4 separate regions of the Homo sapiens genome follow, and regions 1, 2 and 4 are each linked to region 3. The links are contacts of gene promoters, found by promoter capture Hi-C in human tissues and cell types (Jung and others, 2019). All regions are on one chromosome and are shown on one strand. Each heading gives the region's core, a stretch centred on a gene start or on the middle of the fragment in contact. The rest is flanking DNA. Distances are from core to core; before and after follow the strand shown.

What was found. The method cuts DNA at HindIII sites, captures the fragments that hold promoters and counts their contacts. A contact is called where the count stands out against the background at its distance.
Region 1: the fragment with the promoter of RAB40B here is called in contact with the fragment with the promoter of CSNK1D in region 3 in 1 of the 25 tissues and cell types used here (dorsolateral prefrontal cortex).
Region 2: a contact is called between the fragment with the promoter of ASPSCR1 here and the fragment with the promoter of CSNK1D in region 3, in 2 of the 25 tissues and cell types used here (dorsolateral prefrontal cortex and lymphoblastoid cells).
Region 4: the fragment with the promoter of ALYREF here is called in contact with the fragment with the promoter of CSNK1D in region 3 in 4 of the 25 tissues and cell types used here (dorsolateral prefrontal cortex, liver, lymphoblastoid cells and 1 more).

The regions. Positions count from the first base shown.
Region 1 is chr17:82,693,453-82,700,324 of GRCh38, forward strand. It overlaps RAB40B (RAB40B, member RAS oncogene family), which reads right to left and starts at 5,246. Exons shown (of 6, transcript NM_006822.3): 1 at 5,003-5,246. The coding sequence starts at 5,144. RefSeq lists silencers at 4,975-5,404, 5,425-5,814. The HindIII fragment of the contact is 28,650 bases long and covers 1-6,872 here.
Region 2 is chr17:81,972,524-81,978,878 of GRCh38, forward strand. ASPSCR1 (ASPSCR1 tether for SLC2A4, UBX domain containing) reads left to right here and starts at 5,106. Exons shown (of 16, transcript NM_024083.4): 1 at 5,106-5,225. The coding sequence starts at 5,124. It overlaps LOC105371939 (a long non-coding RNA gene), which reads right to left and starts at 4,962. Exons shown (of 2, transcript XR_933953.4): 1 at 4,845-4,962; 2 at 3,445-4,434. LOC124904087 (a long non-coding RNA gene) reads left to right here. Exons shown (of 2, transcript XR_007065951.1): 2 at 3,588-3,812. RefSeq lists enhancers at 3,718-4,491, 4,492-5,263 and a silencer at 4,742-5,601. The HindIII fragment of the contact is 10,548 bases long and covers 1,527-6,355 here.
Region 3 is chr17:82,270,095-82,276,290 of GRCh38, forward strand. CSNK1D (casein kinase 1 delta) reads right to left here and starts at 3,606. Exons shown (of 9, transcript NM_001893.6): 1 at 3,212-3,606. The coding sequence starts at 3,287. LOC124904089 (a long non-coding RNA gene) reads left to right here and starts at 3,684. Exons shown (of 2, transcript XR_007065953.1): 1 at 3,684-4,979. RefSeq lists silencers at 3,006-3,055, 3,106-3,295, 3,536-3,745. The HindIII fragment of the contact is 10,787 bases long and covers 1-5,439 here.
Region 4 is chr17:81,886,831-81,892,857 of GRCh38, forward strand. ALYREF (Aly/REF export factor) reads right to left here and starts at 4,756. Exons shown (of 6, transcript NM_005782.4): 1 at 4,493-4,756; 2 at 3,859-3,990; 3 at 2,352-2,499; 4 at 1,690-1,753; 5 at 1,411-1,588; 6 at 1,005-1,315. The coding sequence starts at 4,750. The coding sequence ends at 1,301. ANAPC11 (anaphase promoting complex subunit 11) reads left to right here and starts at 4,893. Exons shown (of 4, transcript NM_001002248.3): 1 at 4,893-5,011. RefSeq lists an enhancer at 1,575-2,774 and silencers at 2,578-2,742, 4,773-5,312. The HindIII fragment of the contact is 25,438 bases long and covers 1,482-6,027 here.

The DNA of each region.
Region 1 (6,872 bases), core at 3,996-6,495, 420 kb after region 3:
AGCTTTGCTGGTGGGAGCACCAAGTGAAAAATGCTTTGCGAGAATCTACTACAGGGAAACCTGTGCAGACATTTGCGTGCCTGATACCCAGCGATTCACACGCATAGGGACCTTTCAACAGAAATGCAAAGGATGTGTACTAGGAATGTTCATGGCAGAACAAACCATAATAGTCAGAAACCTGAAACCACCCAAATGCCCGTCACCCGCAGGATGGAGAATAAATCACGGTAGAGTCACAAAAGGGATGTCACCACCATGAGAATTAACACCCCACAGCCTCACACAACATGGGAGAGTCTCTTTCACATAACGGGGGCCAGAGACACAGTCACAGAAGTGCACATTGGCCAGGCGCAGTGGCTCACGCCTGTAATTCCAGCACTTTGGGAGGCCGAGGCGGGCAGATCACCTTAGGCCCGGAGTTCCAGACCATCCTGGCTAACAAAGTGAAACCCCGTCTCTACTAAAAATACAAAAATTAGCCAGGCGTGGTGGCGCACACCTGTAGTCCCAGCTACTCAGGAGGCTGAGACAGGAAAATCGCTTGAACCTGGGAGGCAGAGGTTGCAGTGAGCTGAGATCGTGCCACTGCACTCCAGCCTGGGCAACAGAGCGAGACTCCATCTCAAAAAAAAAAAAAAAAAAAAGGAAAACTCCAAAACTAAGAGAAAATTAGGAGACAAAAATAACATCTTTACTGAACTAATCAATAAGTTAGAAACAGCTAGAACAGTTTACTGAAATCAAAATTACCAACAAATAGGAAAGGCATAAGATAATCAGAAAAATTCAGGCCGCGCACTGTGGCTCACACCTGTAATCCCAGCACTTTGGGAGGCTGAGCTAAGCAGATCACCTGAGGTTAGGGGTTCGAGACCACCCTGGCCAACATGGAAACCCCGTCTCTACTAAAAATACAAAAACAAATTGGCCCAGTGTGGTGGCAGGCACCTGTAATCCCAGCTACCTGGGAGGTTGAAGCAGGCGAATCACTTGAACCTGGGAGGTGGAGGTTGCAGTGAGGTGAGATCACACCACTGCACTCCAACCTGGGCAACAGATTGAGACTACATCTAAGAAAAAAAAAATACATACACACACACATACACACACACACCTGGAAACTCAAAGAGTACGTTCATACTAAAAGTTTAACACAAACATTCAACTCTGAGACATGGTCTGGTTAAGCAGAAGAACTATGAGACAAAAAGAAAGAATTCCTCAGAAATTCATGAAGGGAAGGACAAGCCTCCACATGGGGAAAAATCAGCTGACCTCAGGCTTCCCCACAGCACATGTGAGCCAGGGGATGGTGGAATGACAGCTGCAAAGTGTTGGGGAAGAAAATAAATCTAAGAGTATTATACCCAGCCAAGATATCTCTACATTGTTCAAAGATAAAGACCATGGGCAGACATTCTCAGACACAAAAAAACACTCAGGAAATACTCGAGTCCTTCTGAAAAAACGACTGATAATGAAATCTAGGTGATTAAGAGGGACAGCACAATGAACAGAGACATAAATGGTAAAAGGACTTTGGTGAGCACTGACTGTATTTAAATGTTGAATTGATACTAAATCATTGCGGGCACTACAGCCACAATACAGAAGCAAGGGCTATAAACCTGGACAATATAAAAATAACAGCCTGGGCTACAAAACTCAGGAGGAATTGGGTGGAGGGAAATGGAGTGTGGAGTTACGAACGCCCTCATCTTTCTTTCTTTCTTTCTTTCTTTTTTTTTTTTCGAGACAAAATCTCACTCTGTCGCTGGGCTGGAGTGCAATGGTGTGATCTCAGCTCACTTCACCCTCCACCTCCTGGGTTCCAGCGATTCTCCTGCCTCAGCCTCCCAAGTAGCTGGGATTACAGGCACGCGGCACCACGCCCAGCTAATTTTTGTATTTTTAGTAGAGATAGGGTTTCACCATGTTGACCAGGCTGGTCTCAAACTCCTGACCTCATGACCCGCCCACCTTGGCCTCCCCAAGTGCTGGGATTACAGCTGTGAGCCACTGCGCCCGGCTGCCCTCACCTTTCAATAACAAGCACCTATAGTGTTTCTCAGCGAAACATGTCATTAAAAAAAAAAAAAAACATGGCCAGGTGCTGTGGCTCAGGCCTATAATCTCAGCATTTGAGGAGGCCAAAAAAGGAGGATGGCTTGAACCCAGGAGGGTCAAGGCTGCAGTGATCTGCAATCACACCACTGCACTCCAGCCTGGGCGGCAGAGAAGACCCTGTCTCTGAAAAAATAAAAAACAAAACATAATGATCTCAACTTCTTACTATTTTTCAGAATATCTTTTCTTAACTCTAAAACAAATATTTGGTAAATCAAAAACCTGCAAGGGTACACCCGTGATATCAGTTTTTTCTACAGCAGCTCAGGCCAAGTAGACAATAAAGCTCTTGATGGGATTTTTTTTTTAAGACAGAATTTCGCTCTTGTTGCCCAGGCTGGAGTACAATGGTGCGATCTCTGCAACCTCCGCCTCCCGGGTTCAAGCAATTCTCCTGCCTCAGCCTCCCGAGTAGCTGGGATTACAGACATGTGACACCATGCTCGGCTAATTTTTGTATTTATAGTAGAGACAGGGTTTCTCCATGTTGATCAGGCTGGTCTCGAACCCCTGACCTCAGGTGATCCGCCCGCCTTGGCCTCCCAAAGCCGGGATTACAGGTGTGAGCCACCGCCCCCGGCCCGGTGGGAGGTGTATTTTTAGCCTAAATCCTCCCTCCGTGTCAAGGGAAAGCCTTTATTACAAAGCATTGGACCATTGTTTTGGTTCGTCCTCAGTTCGGCATGTAGCAACCAAAAGTCACGCAGCAGAAGCATCCCCGAGCCTCCATTCAAACCAACCAGAAGGAAGTTTCACAAACATTCTGTGCGTGACCCTTCTCACACACGCCCCACGGCACTCACCTTCAATCAAACTCAACACTGTCAACCGTCTGCTCCCCCAAAACACGCACAGCTCTTAAAGCGCCATATTCGTCTGGGCGTACACGTTGTTGGGTGCTTTATTCCTGTAGCTCTGGTAGGGTTCATCCCTCACTGAGCCCAGACCCCGAGGGCACAGTGCAGACAAAGCCCTGTCCTCCAGGCGCTCAATCTCCAGCCCTGTCCTCCAGGCGCTCAATCTCCAGCCCTGTCCTCCAGGCGCTCAATCTCCAGCCCTGTCCTCCAGGCGCTCAATCTCCAGCCCTGTCCTCCAGGCGCTCAATCTCCAGCCCTGTCCTCCAGGCGCTCAATCTCCAGCCCTGTCCTCCAGGCGCTCAATCTCCAGCCCTGTCCTCCAGGCGCTCAATCTCCAGCCCTGTCCTCCAGGCGCTCAATCTCCAGGGCAGCGCTGGCCCTCGGACTTTGCCACAGCGACATCCGAACTATCTAGAAATGTGACGAATGGAAGCTTTTTGTTTTCTTTCCTTCTAATTACACTTCCACAGCCACACGTGGCTCATGGCATCCTACTGGACACCACGGTCCTAGAGACCTGCCACCGAGCGGGGAGGGGGGTAGGACATGCGGGGGCAGCGGCGCCTGGGGACAGGTAGAGACGCAGGCTCCCCTCCTGCCCCACGGAGCACACTCTGCACCCACCAGCTGCCAGAGACTCCCCCGCATGCTGCAGTTTCAGGAGGCCTCTGGGTGCTGGTCGTGAGCCCAAGCCCATCTCAGCTGCTCCCCCAAACTCTGCCCATTCCTCACCCCGTCCCCTAAGCTGAGGTGTGGCCGGGCACCTGAGTCCCACCCCACGCTCCACAGTCTCAGGCCACCCCCTCCAGCCGTGCCACACTCCCTTGGTGCTCACGCCGCCTGCCTGGAGCTGCCCTTAGGGGACAGCCTGCACCCTCTACCGAGCAGCCTCAGATCCCGCTTCCTCCCACCCTCTCCCGCTAAGTTCGTCTCTGGCAGGACCCTGGACCTGGGGCTTCCCAGACCCTTCCCAGGCCCCAGAGCTGACAGGTCCTTCCCACCAAGACTCCATCTCCACGCCCGGCTGCCCTCCTCCGCCCAGGACTCAGAGCGGGTCTCTGTTGGAAGCGTGGGTTCAGCCCCGAGGCGCGGCAGGAAGGTGGGCACAGGCTGGGCTCCTTCCACAGCCTCAGGGTCGGCCTCGTCCAAGCTGTTCCAGGGATGCGCGTGGGTGAAGGCCCCGCCTGCTCCTCACTCCCAGCCGAGGTGTTCGCCTCTGCGCGTTCCCCCTTCTCCTGGGTTCCTGCCCCCGCCTTTCTTTCCCCGGAGCCGTCCACCCCCTCGCCGGGCGCCGGCTTTCAAGCCTCAAACTTGGGGGATCCCCGGGCTGCCTGCCTGGGAGCTCTGGGCGCTCCGGCCTCCCCTCGCCCTGGAACCCGCTCTCCGGCCGCTGTCGTGGGGGGTCCCCTCTTCCGCACGCGAGTCACCTGTGCTCCTTCCTCTCCCCCGGACACGCGGGACCCCTGGCCTCGGGACCGGACCCTGGTCTCCCCTCCCCTCCGACCCACGCGCAGACCCAGCACCTGGGCGCCTGCTCGCCGCGCTCCGCCCCAGGAGCCCCGGAGCTCGCGTCCCCTCCCGCCCCTCCTGCCCCGCGGCCGAACGCGCACTTGCGGACTCGAGCCCCCGCCCCGGGTCCCCACAGCAGCGGCCCCAGGTCGGGAGGAGCCCAGCGCCCGGCCCAGCCGCGGGCTCCCGCTGCGCGCAGACTGCGGAGAAGGATGGAGACTGCGCCGCGGGGCCTCGAGTGGAACTGGGGGTGCAACAGGGACGCCGCAGCACGAGGGCCAGGGCCGGGCGGAGAAAGGCCCGCCCGCGAACCGCGCTCCTCCTCAGCCCCGCGCCCCCGGACCGGGACTCCTACCCTCCCCGGCCACGCGCCCCGGCCTCTTCCCGACCCCTGCCCGGTCTCGCGTCCCCGGACCCGGACCCCCACCCGCACCCCCTCCCCAGCCCCGCGCCCCTCCCCGGCCCCGCGCCCGCACCCCGGCACGCCCTCCGCCCGCGCTCACCCGCCGGGTGGCCGTACGGGGACTCGGCCGCGCCATCCTGCAGGCTCGCCAGGATCTCGCCCTTGCCCACGTCGCTGTCGCCCACCAGCAGGAACTTGAGCAGAAAGTCGTAGGCCCGGACCGGGCTGCCCAGGGCGCTCATCGTGACGGCCCGGCGCCCCCACCCATGCCCGGCCTGCGGGGCTGAGCGCAGAGGCGGCGGCCCGGCCCCGAGAGGCGCCGCGCGGGCCCCGAGTCCTTGCTCGCCTCCGGCCCCGCCCCGCCGCCCAGCGCTGACAGCGCGCATCCCCGCCCGGCCCCGCCATTGGTGGACCGCAGTTGCTAGGGCAGCTGCGCGCTTTCACTGGCTTGGTTGTCCGTCCATCTTACTCTCGTCACCGCCTCCGGGCTGTCGCCCACCCGCCCCTCCTGAAAGGTCGCTGTCACCACAGCCAATGGAGGCCCGGAGACGGGGCAGGGGCGGAGCCAGAACAAGCAGGAGGCGGGGACTCTGCTCCCGCAGCCAATGGCGGGGCGGGGTGGGGGCGATCAGGGGGTGGGGCCGGGTGTTTACACTCTCGCGTGCGCCCGTGAGCGCCACGAACTCGCTCCCACGGTCGTCGGGTCTGCACGCCCCGAGTCGGGAGGGGCGAGGGGCGGTGCAGGGTCCCAGCGTGGGGCCTCCCCACCTGCCCACCAGGGAGACCTCGGGTGCCTGGCCGGGTGGGGCTCGGGGTCGGTCCAGTTGGCGGACGCGGCCGGAAGGCCCCCGCAGGCCGCCTCGCCGGAGGAGTCCCTGTCGCCGTAGAATCCAGGCTCGCGGTCTCTCCCCACGGTTCATCCAGGGCCTCGTCGTTGCCCCATTTACGCGGCGTGCCTGAATGCCTGTGTGTGCACATGCGCCTGTGTACGTGTGCATGTGTTCGTGTGTGTGCATGTCTGCGTGTGCATGTGTGCCTCTGCAGATATCTGCACATGTATGTGTCTGCGTGTGCATGTGTCCCTCTGCAGGTGTCTGCACATCTATGTGTCTGCGTGTGCATGTGTCCCTCTGCAGGTGTCTGCACATGTATGTGCGTGTGCATGTGTCCCTCTGCAGATGTCTGCACATCTGTGTGTCTGCGTGTGCATGTGTGCCTCTGCAGGTGTCTGCACATGTATGTGCGTGTGCATGTGTGCCTTTGCAGGCATCTTTGCATGTGTGTGTCTGCGTGTGCTGCTTCTATGCATGCGCTCCTATGTGTGCGTGCGCTTGTTTGTGCATCCATGCATGTGTTTGCGTGCGTGCTGGAGGAGAGCATTGGGTGGGACCCTCCAGCCTTTTGGCTTCTCCTCTGCTCTAGAGAGCAAGGGTTGCCAGGCCGAGGTCTGCCCTTCGCTCTGAGGGTCTCACCAGGTGCACATTGGTTTATTTGGTGCAGAATTCAGGCAGCAGGCAAAGGGCGAGCTCCGTCCAAGAAGAAGGATAATGCCCCCACTACTTCATCCCCTCCACCCTGCGTTGTGTAGGGAACTGCTCTAGACCCCATTAGAAGTTTTTTGTGGGGGAGGAACAGAAGAGGGAGCGGAAGAAGAATTACAAAAGAGACTGAAGTCAAGATTATTATATTTGTCATTTGCATTCATTTGGACCTAGAAAATGTTTACTTTGGAATGCCAATTTAGTTTGCAACACCTGTTATTCATTGGTTGATTAGTTGCTTTAGTTACTAATGCAGCCACATTTTTTTTTTTTTGAGACAGAGTCTTGCTCTGTTGCCCAGGCTGGAGTGCAGTGATGTAATCTTGGCTCACTGCAACTTCCACCTCCTGGATTCAAGCCTCCCAAGTAGCTAGGATTACAGGCATGTGCCACCACACCCAGCTAATTTTTGCATTTTTAGTAGAGATG
Region 2 (6,355 bases), core at 3,856-6,355, 300 kb before region 3:
CACTAACCTAACCTAACACAGAAAAGCAAATTAATTCAAATAACTTTTGAACACAATACTCTATGTTTCTTTAATGGGACATACTCTAAAGGACAAAAATAGCTACAAAGACATCTTGAAATTTCCACAGTAGATCTGTTGTTAATAGCAAGATTGCCGCAGTACCTCTGAAACTATTTGGAGGGCATTTTAGAACAAAGCAAATGAATAAATATACTGATTTACTGACAATTAGGGTTCTCACTGCGGACAAAGGAGGTATTAGGTTGAACCATGTAGGTTTTGTCATTTTTTTGTAGATCAAAAATGATCGGCTGGGCGCAGTGGCTCATGCCTATCTATAATCCCAGTACTTTGAGAGGCCGAGGTGGGAGGATCACCTGAGGTCTGGAGTTCAAGACCAGCCTGGCCACCACAGTGAAACCCCATCGCTACTAGAAATACAAAGATTAGCTGCTCATGGTGGCAAGCGCCTGTAATCCAAGCTATTCAGGAGGCTGAGGAAGGAGAATCGCTTGAACCCGGGAGATGGGGGTTGCACTGAGCCGAGATCGTGCCACTGTATTCCAGCCTGGGCAATAGAGCGAGACTCTGTCTCAAAAAAAAAAAAAAAAAAAAAAAAAAAAGCCTGGGTGCGGTGGCTCACACCTGTAATCCCAGCACTTTGGGAGGCCGAGGCAGGCGGATCACAAGGTCAGGAGATTGAGACCATTCTGGCTAACATGGTGAAACCCTGTCTCTACTAAAAATACAAAAAATTAGCCGGGTGTGGTGGCCGGTGCCTGTAGTCCCAGCTACTCGGGAGGCCGAGGCAGGAGAATGGCGTGAACCTGGGAGGTGGAGCTTGCAGTGAGCCAAGATTGCGCCACTGCACTCCAGCCTGGGTGACAGAGTGAGACTCCGTCTCAAAAAAAAAAAAAAAGAAGATAAAAAAAGGTTAACTAGGGCAATTTAATAGAATTCAACCAAATACAAATATGGAATGAGGGAAGAAGGGGGAGAAGGCTGAGGTGTGGCTTAGAAATATTCAGATGAATTCATCACACTAATTGTGTCCCCTGAGAGGGCCCAGAAAGCAGTGACATCCCAGTAGCCATGAGCACACTCAGCACCCAGAACTTGGTCTCTAAATCCCATTTCCTTGTAAAAGGGATTGGGGTTTCTCTGAAAAATGGCTGACTTCAGGGCTTGGGCAGAGAGGAGATGCCCAAAGAATAATGGAAATGCCAAAAGGATGCAGGAAAGATGTCCACACTTGGACAATTAACTGTGGATTAACTCAGAGTATGATACCAACATTAGATTTCCCAATTTTGTATGAAATTATGGTGGCTATATAAGAGACTGGCCTTATTTTATTTATTTATTTTTTTGAGACTGAGTCTCACTCTGTCGCCAAGGCTGGAGTGCAATGGCGTGATCTTGGCTCACTGTAACCTCCACCTCCCACAATCAAGCAATTCTCCCACCTCAGCCTCCCAAGTAGCTGGAATTACAGGCACCTGCCATCACGCCCAGCTACTTTTTGTATTTTTTGTAGAGATAGGGTTTCACCATGTTGGCCAGGCTGGTTTTGAACTCCTGACCTCAGGTGATCCACCCGCCTTGGTCTCCCAAAATGCTGGGATTACAGGCGTGAGCCACTGCACCTGGTTGAGACTGGCCTTATTCTTAGGAAAGAGAAAAACTGAAGTATTTAGTGGCGAAGGTGCTCAATGTCTTTACTGCAGCCTCGACCTCCTGGGCTCAAGTGATCCTCCTGCCTCAATCTCTCAAATCGCTGGGACTACAGGGACATGCCACCATGCCTAGCTAACCTTTGTATTTTTTGTAGAGCTGGGGTCTCACTATGTTGCCTAGGGTGGTCTCAAACTCCTAGGCTCAAATGATCCTCCTACTTTGGCCTCCCAAAGTGCTGGGATTATAGGTGTAAGCCACTGTGCCTGGCCAGAAAAAGTTTTTACATGTATATGGAGAGAGAGAAAGAGAATATGATAAAACAAATGGGGTGACATGTAAACACTGATTTATCTGGCTAAAAGATATACAGGAGGCTGGGCGTGGTGGCTCACACCTGTAATCCCAGCACTTTGGGAGGCTGAGGCGGGTGGATCACGAGGTCAGGAGATTGAGACCATCCTGGCTAACATGGTGAAACCCCATGTCTACTAAAAATACAAAAAATTAGCCGGGCATGGTGGCAGGTGCCTGTAGTCCCAGCTACTCGGGAGGCTGAGGCAGGAGAATGATGTGAACCCGGGAGGCGGAGCTTGCAGTGAGCCGAGATTGCACCACTGCACTCCAGCCTGGGCAACAGAGCGAGACTCCGTCTCAAAAAACAAAACAAAACAAAACAACAACTAGCTGGGTGTGGTGCTGCACACCTGTAGTCCCAGCTACTCGGGAGGCTGAGGCAGAAGAATCGCTTGAACCCGGGAGGCAGAGGTTGCAGTGAGCTGAGATTTCGCCACTGCACTCCAGCCTGGCGACAGAGGGAGACTCCATCTCCAAAAAAAAAAAAAAAAAAAAAAGATATACAGCAGGAATTCTTGCTTTTGCAAACTTTTCTTCTCTTTCTTCCTTCCTCCTCCCTCTTCTTCTTTCTTCTCCTTCTCCTTTTTTGAGACGGTATCGTACTACGTTGCTCGGGCTGGGGTGCAGTAGTTATTCATAGGCATGAATAGTGGTTCACTAAGGCTGGAACTTAAGTAATTCTCCTGCCTCGGCCACCGGAGTAGCTAAGACTACAGGTGTGAGCCACCTTGCTCGGCTAAGTTTGAAATAATATCAGGATAAAAGATCATCCCTCCTATCAAAAAAAGCATAGGAGCCAGCTTAAAGGAGGTCTCACTGGCCAAATTCGGACCAATTTGAGCATCAAAAAGAATGCTGACTGAATGAAAAAAATACATGAATTCATATTAATAAATATATATATTTCAAGATGGGGTTTCACTCTTGTCGCCCAGGCTGGAGTGCAATGGTGCGATCTTGGCTCGTTGCAACCTCCATCTCCCAGGTTCAAGTGATTCTCCTACCTCAGTGTCCCGAATAGCTGGGATTACAGGCACGCACCGCCATGCCCGGCTAATTTTTGTACTTTTTTTTTAAGTAGAGACAGGATTTCACCATGTTGGCCAAGATGGTCTCAATCTCTTGACCTTGTGATCTGCCCAACTCAGCCTCCCAAAGTGCTGGGATTACAGGCGTGAGCCACCGCGCCTGGCCATATTTAATTTTTTTTTTTTTTTTTTTTTTGAGACAGAGTCTTGCTCCGTCTCCCAGGCTGGAGTACAGTGGCGTGATCTCAGCTCACTGCGAGCTCTGCCTCCCGGATTCACGCCATTCTCCTGCCTCAGCCTCCCAAATATTTAATAACTTTTTAAAGAAGGGGAAGCTTGACCGAAAGTGACTATAAATGTAGAAGAAACAATAAACTTGGGAAGCCATGATTTTGCAGCTTTACGGTTTAACACTGAATCTACTCATTAACTGATGCTAAAACTGTTGGGCAAATGGTTATTGGGAAAACTTGATGCTTGTGGTCTCAGAGAATGACCTCACGCATGCCTTAATTACTCCACAAGGAGCCACGGACCTTGACCATGGAGGAATTCAGCAGACCCAAAGCTGACCAAGTGGTTCAACTTCACGTCCTCACTCATGGCCACGCTGATGTCCTGCACCTCCTGCTGACTTGTCACCTCCCTTCATCATTGCCCCAAACGTTTAACCAAGGATCCAGACTGTGGGACAGTCTAAGGAAAATAGGAACAGACTCTTCAAAAACGCCACTAAAGAATTAAAACCCACCAGGTGATGTGTGGCTCAGTAAGGTTCTGAGGTTGCACAGAGCATGGGACTGGCTGGCTGGATGGGAGGGCTATGGCTAGCCTGGGGCTTTCCCCAGGTTTCTCCAATGTACATAGATGTCCGTGTTTGTCAGCATACAGGTGTGTGTGGGTGACATGGATATGTCATCGACAGGAAGGCACAACAGCACCCATGCAGAGATGTCCTTAGACTCAGCAATGACTGCCGGGTGCGGTGGCTCACGTGTGTAATCCCAGCCCTGTGGGAGGATTGACTGATAACTGCACCAGTTCCCCCTTCCACAGGCTACTGGGCAGCTGAGCCCTAGCCAGGAGTCCGCAGAGACAGGCAGGCACATGGAGAGAGGAGTGCCAAGGCCCGGCTGAGCCATGGAGGTGGGGGGCGGGGCGGAACACGTGCGAGTGCTGTCCATGAGTGGCCCAGGTGCTGGGAGCTAAGCACATTCGACGGCTGCGAGTCAGGAGGGCAGCTCCTTCTGGAAGCCTGGAGCTGGTGAGGCCAGGTGCTTTCCCTGCTGCGGTGGCTGGCGATGGGAGTGTTTCCTGAGGCTGCCACCAAGCCCCTCCTCAGCATGGGTTGGTGCGGGAAGTCCTTGAGTGCCTGTGGGTCGGCAGGAGCTCCGGTGAGACTCAAGTTCGCTCACCCCACGGTTCTGAAACCGGTCTCCCGCCTTTCCTACCCTCAGGTTTAGGGACCGTCGCGGCAGCCCTAGGGCTGCCAGATTCTGCACTCCCATTTTAGGATGAAAGAAATCAGGTCTAGACTGAGGGCCACGAGTCCCAACACCCAGGGAGGATCCGTACAGGGGCGGGGGGACTGCCCCAAACCATAAGGTCAGGAGGTGGACGCTGACCACAGGGACAGGTGGGCAGGGAAGAGGCTCAGCTGCTGGAGTGGAGGAAGCCGGGAGGGTCGGGGGAGAGCAGGGCACCGAGCTGGGGACGTGTCAGGGACGAAGCGAGGGTGGGCGAGCGCGGACCGCTGGGACCCCGGGGCTCAGTGCCGCTCACCGGGGGTGACCGCGCGCCCAGCCCCGGCCCAGCCTGGCCCCGGCGAGCCCATCCAAGCCGCGCTTCCCGGAGGCAGAGGACGACCGCGCTTTCCGGGTCTGGCGCGGGCTTTGGCGGCCCAAGGGCGGGGCCGGGGCGCCGTGGGTGGGGAAAGGGCGGGGCCTGGCAGGACCCGGAAGTGCGCTGCGGCCCCGCCCCCTGGCCGCGTGGCTGCGCGTCCTGGCTGTTGCCGATAAAGTTGTTTGACGCCGGCCCGGCGGCGGGTCACGTGAGCGGAAAATGGCGGCCCCGGCAGGCGGCGGAGGCTCCGCGGTGTCGGTGCTGGCCCCGAACGGCCGGCGCCACACGGTGAAGGTGACGCCGAGCACCGTGCTGCTTCAGGTGCGGCCGCCCGCCCGGGGCGGACGGGTAGGCGGGCGGGGGGCGCTGCGCCGAGGCCCCGCCCATTGCGGTCGGCGTCCCGGTGTTCGGGGGCGGGGCCTCGGCGGCCAATGAGCGGCCTCCTGAGCGGCGGCCCCGCCCCCTGCTCGCCGTCACCTGCGCTTCCGCTGGGGTCCCGGGGGTCCCGGGGGTCCCGAGTGGGGGCGGGGCGGTGGCGAGCCTTCCCAGGGGTGAGGTAGAACGGCGCCGCGTGTCACCCGCATCGAGTACTCGGCGCCCGGCCGAGCCCAGCTCGCGAGGGCGCCGGGAAGAGGGAGGAGTGGAGCCCTAGACCCGCGTTCCCATTCCGGGGCGTCCCCCGGAGCGGGAGCCCGGGTTGCGCGGTGGCAGATGTCCCGGCCGTGGGGCCTGGAAGCGATTTTTGCCGAGTCACTCACTGCACTTTTACTTGGGCACCTTGTGACCGCGAATCAATTAAATGTAAAAGTATTGGCTGGGCGCGGTGGCTCACGCCTGTAAATCCCAGCACTGTGGGATGCCGAGGCGGGTGGATCACGAGGTCAAGAGATCAAGACCATCCTGGCTAAAACGGTGAAACCCCGTCTGTACTAAAAAAATACAAAAAAATTTAGCCGGGCGTGGTGGCGGGCGCCTGTAGTCCCAGCTACTCGGGAGGCTGAGGCAGGAGAATGGCGTGAACCTGGGAGGCAGAGCTTGCAGTGAGCCGAGATCGCGCTACTGCACTCCAGCCTGGGAGACAGAGCGAGACTCCATATCAAAAAAAAAAAAAAAAAGTATTTATTGAGCCTCTGCTGCGTGGGGGACCGTGAGGATCCGAAGGTGCACACGACTCGGAGTTTGCGGGAGCAGCCCACGGCGTGGGGTCCCCAGGCCTGGGCAGGTGGAGGGCGCAGCCAGGAGGCTGTTGGTGCCAGGCGTGCAGAGTGCGGAAGTGGGGCGCTCCCGCAGAGGCTGCGCGGGACCCCTTGGTGCAAGGCCACGGCTTTGGCTTTTTATGGAGAAGAGGGGCGGAGGCGGTGCAGGCAGTGGCAGCAGGTGCACAGAACCGTGCCAGAGCCAGGGGGTAGCTTGTGCTAGGCAAGTTTAAGGCAGGTTGCAGAACTACAGGG
Region 3 (6,196 bases), core at 2,356-4,855:
CCTTGCGGATCTGGCAATCTCAGACTGAAGACAGATTGTTCTTTTTGGGGTCCCACTTTCCAAAGCCTGGGCATTCAAGAAATAGCCCCAAAATACTGCCCCCTTTGAAGGGGCAATTTTGGAACACGACAACCTGGCAGGGCCCTGCAGTGAGCACCCGCCCTCCAACTGTCACAGCAGGGTCGGGGCAGGCAGGCCCACACCACGCTTCTAGCCCACAGGCACTCCACTGAAGCACAGCCTTCCCCCCTTCCTGGTCTCAAACATCTGAAAGCACAGAAAGTCCCCGGTAGAAAAACAAGAACCCAAAAGCCAAGCTCAAAGCAAGGTGAACCCCACCTGGAGGATACCAAAGTGACAACAGTAGGAATGGTCTTAACGATACTCATACTAGAATATACACGACACACAGAGGTCAAGATGAAGACCTAGTTCCTCGATTTATGTGTAACTGGCTGCCCAAACAAAACTATGGTGGGGATGACCGATCCATCTCATAGTCTTCAGATCAGCCATCTTTGACTCTAACTGCCATTCTGCTCAGACCCACGCTTCTTTCAAACTGCCTTACTCCGGCTAACGTGACCACCTCGCCTTTCCTCCGTGGGGTCGTCTGAAAGGACCACAGTGTAGGCTAGGAGCCAATGCTGATGGGAAAAAAAAAAATCAGCTGTGCCTAACCCCACTCAAGTAACTGGACGTGTACCCTGATGGGTGGCTGTCTGGGACGGCTGTCTGGGGGCTCCAACCCCAGGGTGTCAGAGCCACAGCCGCCCGCAATCCCGTATCCAGCATGACTGTATGCCCAGCGCGAGGTGAGGCCTGGAGGGTAGAATGCTGAGTGAGGAGACAGCCTTCCACCCTCCACCTCTGGAATTACTTGGTGACAACCACACCAAAATTTGTCTTAATCTATCTTTGGAAAGCACAAAGTTGTTTGACAAGGTCTCAGATCAGAGAACAGATAGTTTCAAAGTACTTCTTATTTATTTATTTTTTGAGACAGAGTCTCACTCCATCGCCCAGGCTGCAGTGCAGTGGTGTGATCTTGGCTCACTGCAACCTCCGCCTCCCAGGTTCAAGCAATTCTCGTGCCTCAGCCTCCCAAGTAGCTGGAATTACAGGCAGCCACCACCACGCCTGGCCAATTTTTGTATTTTTAGTAGAGATGGGGTTTCGCCACTTTGGCCAGGCTGGTCTCCTGACCTCAAGCGACCCGCCCACCTCAGCTTCCCAAAGTGCTGGGATTACAGGCGTGAGCCACCACACCCGGCCCAAAATACTCCTTTTTGATGCCTGCCTAAAGGTGGCTAATGGACTGGCTTTGCAGTGTAACTCAGATCCTGGGGTTAAAACTTTCGCCAAAATCCATTGTTCTATAAATAAGCCAAACGACTTCCATTGACCAAGCACTCTGACTTCCCAAACACTGCCAAGAACACATCCAGCTGACCACCTGGTATAAATGTTTAATAGCCAAACCCAAATGTCTAAAGCCTGCTTACTCAGCAGTCCACTAAGGCATATGTACAGGTTCAAAAGCAACAATATGGCATGTGACAGGGTCACCTGGCAGGTTAACCAGGCACCGAAAGTATGAGCCACCCATATGTGTGGATTCGTCCTAACGCTGTCAGCCCACCGGGTCCTGAGTCCTCTCTCTGGTGACAAGTGGGAAGGGTGTGAGAACTGGAGACTGTCCACATGTGGCTTCATCTAAAAGGTATGACCAGAGGCATTACTGACATCCCAGGGGATTCCTGACCCTAGCTGACAGGTGCCCCAGTTAAAACACACCCCAAAGCTAGGGCTGCTGGAACAGAAAACAGCTCCCCTCAAAGGTCTGCAGCAGCCCCTCTGCAGGCACACCGCCTCAGGCTACATATCCTCAAATTCAGGGGATCTTGGAATAACTCGTGCATTGCACAATCCCACTAACAAGTGCGGAAAATTAAGTTACTTTAAAATTACAAACTTGGGCCAGGCGCGGTGGCTTCCCAGCACTTCGGGAGGCCGAACTGGGCGGATCACTTGAGGTCCGGAGTTCGAGACCAGCCTTGACCAACATGAAGAAACCCCGTCTCTACTAAAAATACGAAATTAGCCAGGCGTGGTGGCGCACGCCTGTGATCCCAGCTTTTCGGGAGGCTGAGGCAGGAGAATCGCTTGAACCTGGGAGGCAGAGGTTGCGGTGAGCCGAGATCACGCCATTGCACTCCAACCTGGGCAACAAGAGCGAAACTCCGTCTCAGGAAAAAAAAAAAAATTACAAACTTGAAGATTTAAGCCAACCTTTCATCACACTTGTGTTCACGTGCATATTTTTCCATTGTAAATATGACACAACCCAAAACCTTCTAATCCCATTGTTTTTGAAATCTACCTTGAGACTGTTACAGTCTAAAGGACACCTCATGAGTACAACTACCTCATCTGCCTCTCATCTTGCCAGCATCTTAATCCTGTGTGACTTTCTCTACATTCACCTAAACTTAACCCTTGCTCATTTGCACTCAGTCACCGCTCCAAGGCCAAGGGGAACCGTTCAGAGAGAACCCCCAGCGGGAGGGCAAGCCCCACTCCTAGCCGGGCCACTCCCCCGCTCCACACGGCATTTGGGTCTTTCTGACATTTTCCCCCACGAATGCAAGACACCGGGGCAGCCTCTGAGGGGGCAGCCAGACAGCCCCGGACCGGGCTGCGGAAGAAAGAGCGTGGCCTTTGTTTACTGCGGTGACCTTAGGCGTAGAGGAAGCCGACGCCCGCTTCGCGGCCCCAGCCCTACCCCCTCCCCTCCCACGGCCCGCTGCCCCCACCCCCGCCCTGCCCCTCCCCCAGGCCCGCCTCCCCACGCCCCACCCAGCCCTTCCCGAGTCCGCTCCCCACGACCCTGCCCCTACCCAGGTCGGCTCCCCAGAGACCATGCCCCACCCCGGGTCAGCTCCCCTATCCCCTCCTTCCCCAACCCTCCCCTCTCCAGACCCTGCTCCCCCGACCTGGTCCTGCCCCTCCCCCACGTCCGCTCCCCACTGCCCTCCCCACCCCTGGCCGCGCTAGCCTAGTGGCCGTTGGGTTCTGGCCACGATCCGGCGGTGCCGGGACTTGCGCGGAGACCCCGCGGGGGCCACCACTTCCTTCCGCGATCGCGCTTGGTCTTGGCAGCCGCAGGGCCCGGGTCTTCGGGCGGCGGGCGGGGGCGGCGGGGCCTCACCGAGATAGATGTCTCCGAAGGAGCCGCTGCCGATCTTCCGGCCCAGCCGGTACCTGTTCCCGACTCTCAGCTCCATGGCGGCGGCGGCCCGATTCGCTCCTGCCCTCCCGGCCGCTTCCTGGGTCTGAACTCTGGGAGGCGGCGCCGCTGCTGCCGCTACTGCGGGTCCGGCTCCCGGCTCCGCCCCCCTCACGGCCCCGCTTTCACCATCGCTTTCCTGTCGCCCCGCCGCTCCCAGCGCCTCAATACGGGGCGGATGGGACAGTCCGAGCGCCGCCGCCGCTGCTCCGGCCCCTACCGGTCCCGCTTGCCCTCTCCCCGCCGCGGATGGACTCGGATCTTCCGGGCCTAAATCCCCTTTCAGCTGCCTAAAGGAGCCGCCGCCATCGCGCTGTGACGTCACTTCCCCTAGCAACCCGGCGGGGCGGGGCCGCGGCGCTCCAGGGGCGGGGCCGGGCGGGGCGAGCGCTCCAGGCCTCCTCCCGACCCTGCGCCGTGCCCAGCCCCTCTGCCCTCCTGTTACCCCGGGACCTCGGGCCGCCAGCCCCTTCCACGTGCAGGCTCCTGCTGCTCTCGCGGGGGCTTTTCGTGTGTCCCCCGAGATGTCGAGGAAGCCAGGTGAGTTCCTCGCGACAGGCGGTGCCCTTTGCAGGAGGGGACAGGTAGCTGAGGCGTGGACAGAGTGACAGGCCAGGCTCAGGGGACACAGGTGAGACCCCCTCACTGGGCTGCCAGTTCCCGGGCTTGGGGCATCCCAGTACGTCAGCGTCTGCGGCCTTACCTCCTGACACCTAAGGCCAGAGACAGAGCAGGCCCGCGCCCTGGGAGGTCCTGATGTCCAGCCTGAAGATTGAGGACAAAGCCACCACCTTTCACAAAATGAGGCCAGACCACCTGCCTCCCTCCAGTCCCTGCGGCCTGGAGACGGAGTCAACATTCTTATCTGTGTTGGATCTGAATGTTCCTCCTTGCAAAGGAAACAAGGAGTGGACGTTCAGGCTGATGGCCAGCTTCAAAGATCGGGGCCTTTGATTCCCATCACTGGGAAGAAAGCCCTTCAGACAAGCCCCCCCAGGCTGCAGGTGCATGGGGACCTTGAAGAACCCGTCCCCATGGTCCCACGTCCATGTGTCTCGAGACCTGTCGCATCCTCGCTGAAACTCAAGAATGTGAAACAGGTGAAGGTGTGTTTTGACGCATTAGCATACCAGGGCTGTGGTGTGGGCACCGCCGTGTGAGTGAGACAGCAGCCTCAGCCCGTCCAGGTCACTGCAGAAGAGGAAAGCAGCCCCCACAGGCCCCACAGTGGTGCTCGCCTTTCTCCACCCCCCAGTCTTTCCTCTCCACCCCTCAGCTCCAAACAGCTGGAGGTCAGGTCGGGGAGACGGGCGTCCATTCCCGAAATTACATAGCAGGGCCTGGAGACAGGAGATGCCGCCGGCCAGACCACCATCAGTCACTAATGAGGGATGGGCAGTCGGAACTGCCCAGTTTCTGAGTTACAGAAGCCGGGGGTGGGGGGCTGCCAGACTAGTAAAACTGACCTTGTTGGCGGAATCGCTCACGGCTTTTCTGTTGATGAACAGAGTCCAGCTCTCCCACGGGTGGCTGTGATCCTTCTTCCTGGGGAGTCCTGCTGTCCCTGACTAGGGGCACCTGCCCACCTGTCAGCTGCTCCTCCCTCGGCTGGTCCTCCTGGGCTCTGATGGCCCCAACATTTCTAGCTCTTCTCACCCATAGTGCCCCAAGCTTCATGCAGCTGCGGCAGGTACTGTGCCCGTCTGCCTGGCTTTTGTGTGTTTGTGTCTTGACTCTATAACCCGTGCACACGGACTGGGCTGTGGTGTAGTGGGGATGGCAGGAGCCCTGGGAACATGCGGGCTGGGCAAGGTGAGGCAGGCTGATTGCTGTGGCTCCCCCACCACCAGCCCCAGCCACAACAAACTGACAAAGGAAGAGGACAGTGGTACCCTGGAGCCCTGGGGTCAGAGAGAGGAGGACAAAGCAGGTGTGTAGCCCAGGGAATGACAGCACCCCTTCCGAGAAGACAGGGAGGGTGCAGACATGGCCAGGTTCTGAGCTAGAAAACTGTCAGCAGGGGGCTGAAGCTGAGGATAGTCATTGCCAAGGAACAGCCTCCGTCACAGAGGAGACGCACAGATGCGGTGACGAGGGAGGGATGCGGGGCTGGTGACCGCTGGGAACGGATGTGTGAGGCAGAGTCTCCAGGCATGGTCTGTGGGGCGGTTTGATGATACTAGAACATCTCAGAGTAGAAGGACGTCCCGACCTGCAGACTGGAAAGCCCCCAGAGCTCCCGGCAGGACGTATGAGGGCCAGCCCACACCCAGGTCTGTCCTGATACAACTGAACGCCACAGTGTCTTAGCTCCTTTACTGTTGCTATCAAGAAACACCTGAGGCTGGGAAATTTATGAAGAATCATGAGGTAATTTGTATATTTGTCCACACTAAACCTCATGTTGAATTGTAAACCCCAAGGCTGGAGGTGGCTGGGTCATGGGGGTGGATTTCTCAGGAATGTTTAGTACCATCCCCTTGGTGCTGTCCTTGAGATAGTGAGTTCTCCTGAGATCTGGTTATTTAAAAAGTGTGGGGCACCTCTCTCTCTCGCTCACTCGCTCGCTCGCTCCTGCTCTGGCCATGTGACGTGCCCGCTCCCCCATTGCCTTTCACCATGATTGGAAGCTTCCGGAGGCCTCCCCAGAAGCTGAGCAGAGGCCAGCACCATGCCTCCTGTAAAGCCTGCAGAACCAGGAGCCAAGTAAACCTCTTTTCATTATTTATTTATTTATTTATTTATTTATTTTGACACAGGGTCTCGCTCTGTTGCCCAGGCTGGAGTGCAGTGGCGTGATCTCGGCTCACTGCAACCTCTGCCTCCTGGGCTCAGGTGATCCTCCCACCTCACCCTCCTGAGTAGCTGGGACTACAGGCACACGCCACCATACCTGGCTAATTTTTC
Region 4 (6,027 bases), core at 3,506-6,005, 380 kb before region 3:
TTTTGTATTTTTAGTAGAGATAGGGTTTTGCCATGTTGCCTAGGCTGGTCTCGAACTTCTGGGCTCAAGAGATCCTTCTGCCCTGACCTCCCAAAGTGCTGGGATTACAGGTATCAGGCGTTGCCCTACTCCTTTTTGAGACGGAGTTCACTCTTGTTGTCCAGACTGGAGTGCAATGGCACAATCTCGGCTCACTGCAACCTCCACCTCCCTGGTTCAGGCGATTCTCCAGCCTCAGCCTCCCAAGTAGCTGGGATTACAGGCATGCACCACCACACCCAGCTAATTTTGTATTTTTAGTAGAGACGGGGTTTCGCCATGTTGGCCAGGCTGGTCTTGAACTCCTGACCTCAGGTGATCTGCCTGCCCCAGCCTCCCAAAGTGCTGGGATTACAGGCGTGAGCCACCGCGCCCAGCCGCCCCACTCTTAAATGGACGGATTATCACAGCTTCCACCAGCCACTTCATCAAATATACAACTAAGAGAGGATCCTCATGCCTTGCTCCGTGGCAAGGTTAAAAACAACAACAAAAAAACAAACAGAAAAAGGAATTACACTACAAAGTCAAAACTGCTGAATCCACGTTTCTCTGAAAACCAGAGTACAAGAAGGAAAGGAACAGCCCAGAGATGTTCTGGCTGTGGGAAGCCTGTGGACGGCACACAGGGCAGCCATCCCACCCCAACCTCCCCTCACCTGGAGGCACAGGCACAAGGGTCAACAGGTGGCTCCCGGGCAAAGGTGTCCTCCCACCTGGTGAGTTAGAGAGGAAGGTGTTAGGTGTGAGGCAGGAAAGAAGATAAGAAAGAAGACAGGCAGCTTCGGCCCTCCAGGAGCGGGGACCCCCCGCCACCCCCACAACCCATGCCAACTTCAGGTGTCCAACACCAGATGGGGCTGCTCCCTCCATCCCCAACTCAGGTTCTCCCACCCCCTCCCAGCTGGACAGACACCAAAATCCTGGCCCAGGCCTGGACTCCAACAGTGGGACGAATCAAACAGTTCCAGTTCTACACACATTTCTATTTTATTATGGAAAAGGTGGAAACGCCACCTTCTCCACAACAGCAACCAGTAAAATTTATCCCAAAAATAACTCGGTACAAAACAGGTCTGTTTCAGAATTAAAAAAAAAAAAAAAGAAAAAAAAAAAACCTTTACATGAGTTTTTAAATCCTATTTTAAAACATAAAAGAAACAAATCCATCATTGGCCGCACAGCCCCAGCCACCGCCCCCCAACCAGGGAGCAAGAGGAGACGCCTGGGTCCTGTTCCGCACGCGGATTTGCTGGTCTGTTTAACTGGTGTCCATCTGAAACACAGAGGAGAAAGAGGCTTGCATTCACAGGCGGCCTGCTCCCCACTGCGGCTTTGACCAGGCCCCCAGCTGGCTCCCCCGGGACTCACTCTCGCATTATAGGCGTCCAGCTGGGCATCCAGCTCCTCTGCCGAAAGCTGCTGCTTTGAATTCCTGCCGGCACCTCTGCCTCTTCCACGGGCGCCTCCGCGGGTGCCTCTCCGGGTGCCTCCACCACCACCAAAACCTCCAGCGCCACGGTTTCTAGTCATGCCACCTCTGTTTACGCTAGCAAGGAAGACGAAACCGTTCACACACCCGGAAGGACCCTAAGAGCGACGCAGCCTCACCCTCGGCCAATCCCCTTCCCCAGAGGCCCCGGAAGTCACCTCTGTGCAGGCCTCCGCTGTGCGTCAATCTGTGACGTGACAAGCTGAATGTTCATGGGGCGGCCTGCGGCAAAGAATACGAGAAGGCACGTTCTATTGAGAGGCTCTGAAACCCACCCAGCTGGCGCCACACCCTGGTCTCCATGCAAACACTGGAAAGGGCCTCTGTGCGTCTCAAATGCCCCCGACAAGGGAAATGGCCTGGAGATACTGGTGGGAGAACAAAATGGCAAGGAAGCAACCCCACCAACACCTCCTCACTCCTTCTCAGTCCAGACTAGGTGGGCTGCTCGCTGAGGTATCGGGGTGCTCGTGGGTGGAGAGGTGTGGGTGACCTGACGAAGAAGAACCGGTACCTTTGTCTTTACGACTACAGCCCCGCACTCAGAGGTGTACTATGGCGGTTCTGAGAAGGCTTCACAGAAGTGAATCTTCCGGAAGGAGCTGAAGGAGGGGAGGGATGTAGCTTGCTGGATGGGGGTTCACAAGAGGTTGGTCCAGATGTGTGGGGCAGCATGAGAGGTGGCAGATGGAAGAGAGAGACAAAGGGGCAAATGCAAAGTGTCCTCAGCCACAGGGGTACCCCATATTCCTACCTGGACAGGTGCCAGCCCCAAACTCCACAAGCCCCACAGTCAGCGTGGGTCCACCCCCAGACTCACCATCCAGAGGGACGCCGTTGTACTGCTTCATGGCCTTCAGGGCATCTGCCTTCCGCTCAAAGTGCACGTCTGCTGTTCCTAAGCTGCGACCAGAGCGATCATAGTGCACAGCCGCCTTCTTCAGCGTTCCAAATTCAGCAAAGAGTTCCTGGGAGTTGCAGAGAGCAGTTGTCAGAAAAGCAACAAAACTGCGTTCCTTCTGGTGGCCCAGGGACAGGCCCTGGAAGCGTGAGTTGCTTTGGGGGTGGTTCTCTGGGAGGCAGGACAGTGGTTAACGGGAAATGAGGGAAGGGCGGGGCAGGAGGGACAGCAACTTCCAAGAGCACCTGGGTCTGAGGGCTCCTGCCATTGTGGGGACCTGACACGTGTACCACGATGCAGGTAGAGGAAGCTGCAAAGCCCACTAGCAACGGGCACAAAATTAAGCCACTATCCTCTTCAACAAAGGAAAATGTACAACACACCCAAGGGCTGTTCCAAGAAACGGTAAAGGCCAAAATCAAGAGCAAGGGAAGCAGTCCGATATCAGACCAGCTTGAAGGGCCTGTAGATTCGGGAGCCCTGACCCCAGCCCCTCCCCCAAAGGCAGATTCTGGCTCACCTTTCCCTCTCCTCCTACTCAAGCCTGCGGCAAAGTCTGAAGTCAAGCGCTGTCATGGAAACTGCCCTGACCTCAGGCAGGCTGGGAGTTGGAGAGGGAACCCAGAGTGTGGGGATACTCCGGCCGCAGGCACACAGCGGGAACTGGAGTTCACCAAAAGCGGTTTCCAGTGGATGCTAGAAACCACCTTAAAAAAAGTGTTGAGACACTGTGAGTGCTCACTGGCCCTACTCTGTCCTCCCAAGGCAAATGGCTGGGCTGTGGGCAACTGAACCCTGCCCAGCCATCTCCAAAACTGATTCCCAAAAAGTCATTTCTTAACCAGAAAACAAGTTGAAATGCCATTGGGATTCAATTTTTCTTTTTTTAAAAAAGAAAAGCTTCAACCAAAGATGGATTTGAGAGTCATGTCACTGACGGGACACGGCGGTGGGGAGTGATAAAACCACAGCGTACAAGGTCTTTATAAGACAGTACTCAAGGCAAACAGAGCCAGAAAAACAGACTCCCTGTGCTTCACAAGATACATAAAGAAGATTCTTTTTCTCACATTAACCCACTAAGACAGGCACAAAATTTAAAAAGCAACTGGGCTGGGTCTAACAGCCAAAAACCACTCACATTTGGTCAGTCTTTGTCCCTGTTAGAAACTGGAAGCCCTGGCAGGGGATTTTCACTCACAGAACCCATCTTCAGACTAACAGCAGCAGTTCCTCAGGCTCAGCTAGGCTCGCACCTGCCTGCGCACTGACCCCGGCTTTACTAGCACTGGGTCTGTCCTGCAGCCCTTCAGAGCTGGGAGGGCTCCCTTCGCTAAGGCGGGAAGGGGACTCAGGGCCACATCCCCAAAATCACGATCCGTCCTGTGCAGGGCGAACGGCTCACCGAGAAGCCCTCGTCTCTTACCTGAATATCGGCGTCTGAGACTCCAAAATCCAGATTGGACACCAGCAGTTTCCCACCTGTCTCCACGCCGGCACCACCGCCGAAGCCACTGTCGAAAAGATCGTGCTGCCACTTGTCGGGAAGTTGTTTTGGCTGAAAAAAAAACCGCAACAAGAGCAGATCTGTGAGTCTCAGTCCAGGGCTTTCCTGACCCTCACGGCTACTCCGGACCCTTCCTCTTCCCGGCCTGAGAGGATCCGGCCGAAACGGGGCCGCCAGCGCTCCCTCCGGCGCTGCAGCTGCCCCAGCCCGAGGCCGCACGGTCCCACCGCGGCCGCACAACTTCAGTTCCCTTAGACTAACTTCCCGCCGCCTGTGCCGCGCCCAGCGTCCCCTCCTCTCCTGCCACGAGGCCCCAACGTCCGGAACAAACAAAGAGCTGGGAAGGGTCTCAGCCTCCGGGACCGGACCCCGAAAGAACGACCTCGCTCCCGCCCACCACCCCCTCCGCGCCCACACGCACCCTCCGGACCTCCGGGCGGCCGCTCCACCAGCCTTATCCACCCGCCGGCCCGGGTCTCCGCCGCGAGCGGCCCCGGCCCCAGCCCCGGCTGGCCCCCTCCCACTCTCCGGCGCGGCCGGCCTCCGCACTCACCCTGCTGTAGGGCGCCGGTCGGTTCCTGCCGCCTCCGCCGGCCGCGCCGCGGGCGATGGCCGGCCGGTTCCGGATGGGCCCGCCGCCTCGATTCACTCGCGCGGCGGCCTGCGCCCCACCGCCGCGGCCGCCCTGGGAGCCGGCCCGGCCGCGGCCCCGGCCCCCGCCCCGGCCGCCTCGCTGGCTCCGGTTCAGTTTAATGATGTCGTCCAGAGACATGTCCATTTTGTCGGCCATGGCGGGCGCGGAATCGGGCATCGGCTCGAGCCCGCGCGTCAGCACGCCGGCACGTCACTTCCGGCGCCGCGTGAGGCCTTCCGGTGCCACGGCCTCGGAGCGGCTGCTGATTGGCCGCTGGCGGACGGCTGCGCGCGCGGGACGGGGTGAGGCGGGGAGGCGCGTGCGCACTGGCGTGCGAGACTCGGCGGGCGCTGTTGAGGGAGTCGGGCCGCGACTGTGGTCGTTTTTATACCTTCCCGCGCGGACGCCGGCGCTGCCAACGGAAGGGCGGGTAGGGCGGTGCGTGATTAGGTTGGCGAAGGTGCGAGGGCGCAGGGGGTGGGGCGGCGGCCGTTGGAGGCGGAGCCTACGCGCCCCTCCCTCCCCGCACGCTCCGCCCGATCGGCCAGGGCTGGGGGCGCTGGGGGCGCTACGGGCGCGGCGGGTGCCTGGGAGCTGCTGGGAGTCCTTGTTTCCGCTCCCGCCCAGGACTGTGCGCTCGGCTCGCGGTGGGGTCCGGCGGGCGCGGCTTCGGCGGGCGGCAGCCGCTGCAGACGAGCTGCGGGTTGGTTTTTTGGTCTCCACCTGCAGCCCCCCCAAGTCTGCACTGTCACATTTTGCCAGTCATATCCTTTACAAGTTTTCTTGCGGGCCGGGCGCGGGCCTCACGCCTGTAATCCCAGCACTTTGGGAGGCCGAGGCAAGAGGTTCGCTTCAGCCCAGGAGTTTGAGACCAGCCGGGGCAACATCGTGAGACCCCCATCTCTAAAAAAAAAAATGAGCTGGGCATGGTGGTGCACTTCTGTACTACCAGCTACTTGGGAGGCCGAGGTGGGAGGATTGCTTGAGCCCAGGAGGTCGAGGCTGCAGTGAGCCGTGGTGGCACCACTGCACTCCAGCCTGGGCGACAGAGCCAGACCCTGTCTCCAAAAAAAAATTATTTTTGCAACTTATTAATGAAAACCAGTGTGCCATTTCATTGATTTTTTTTTTTTTTTTTTGAGGCAGTCTCATTCTGTCGCCCAGGCTGGAGTGCAGTGGGGCGATCTCGGCTCACTGCAACCTCTGCCTCCTGGGTTCAAGCGAGTCTCCAGCGGCAGCCTCCCGAGTAGCTGGGACTACAGGCACGTGCCACCATACCTGGCTAATGTTTGTATTTTTAATAGAGACAGGGTTTCGCCATGTTGGCCAGGGTGGTCTTGAACTCCTGACCTCAGATGATCCGCCCGCCTTGGCCTCCCAAAGTGCTGGGATTACAGGCATGAGCCACCACACCCAGCCCATTTCATGGATTTTAAGTTGTTTTGAGATACTTG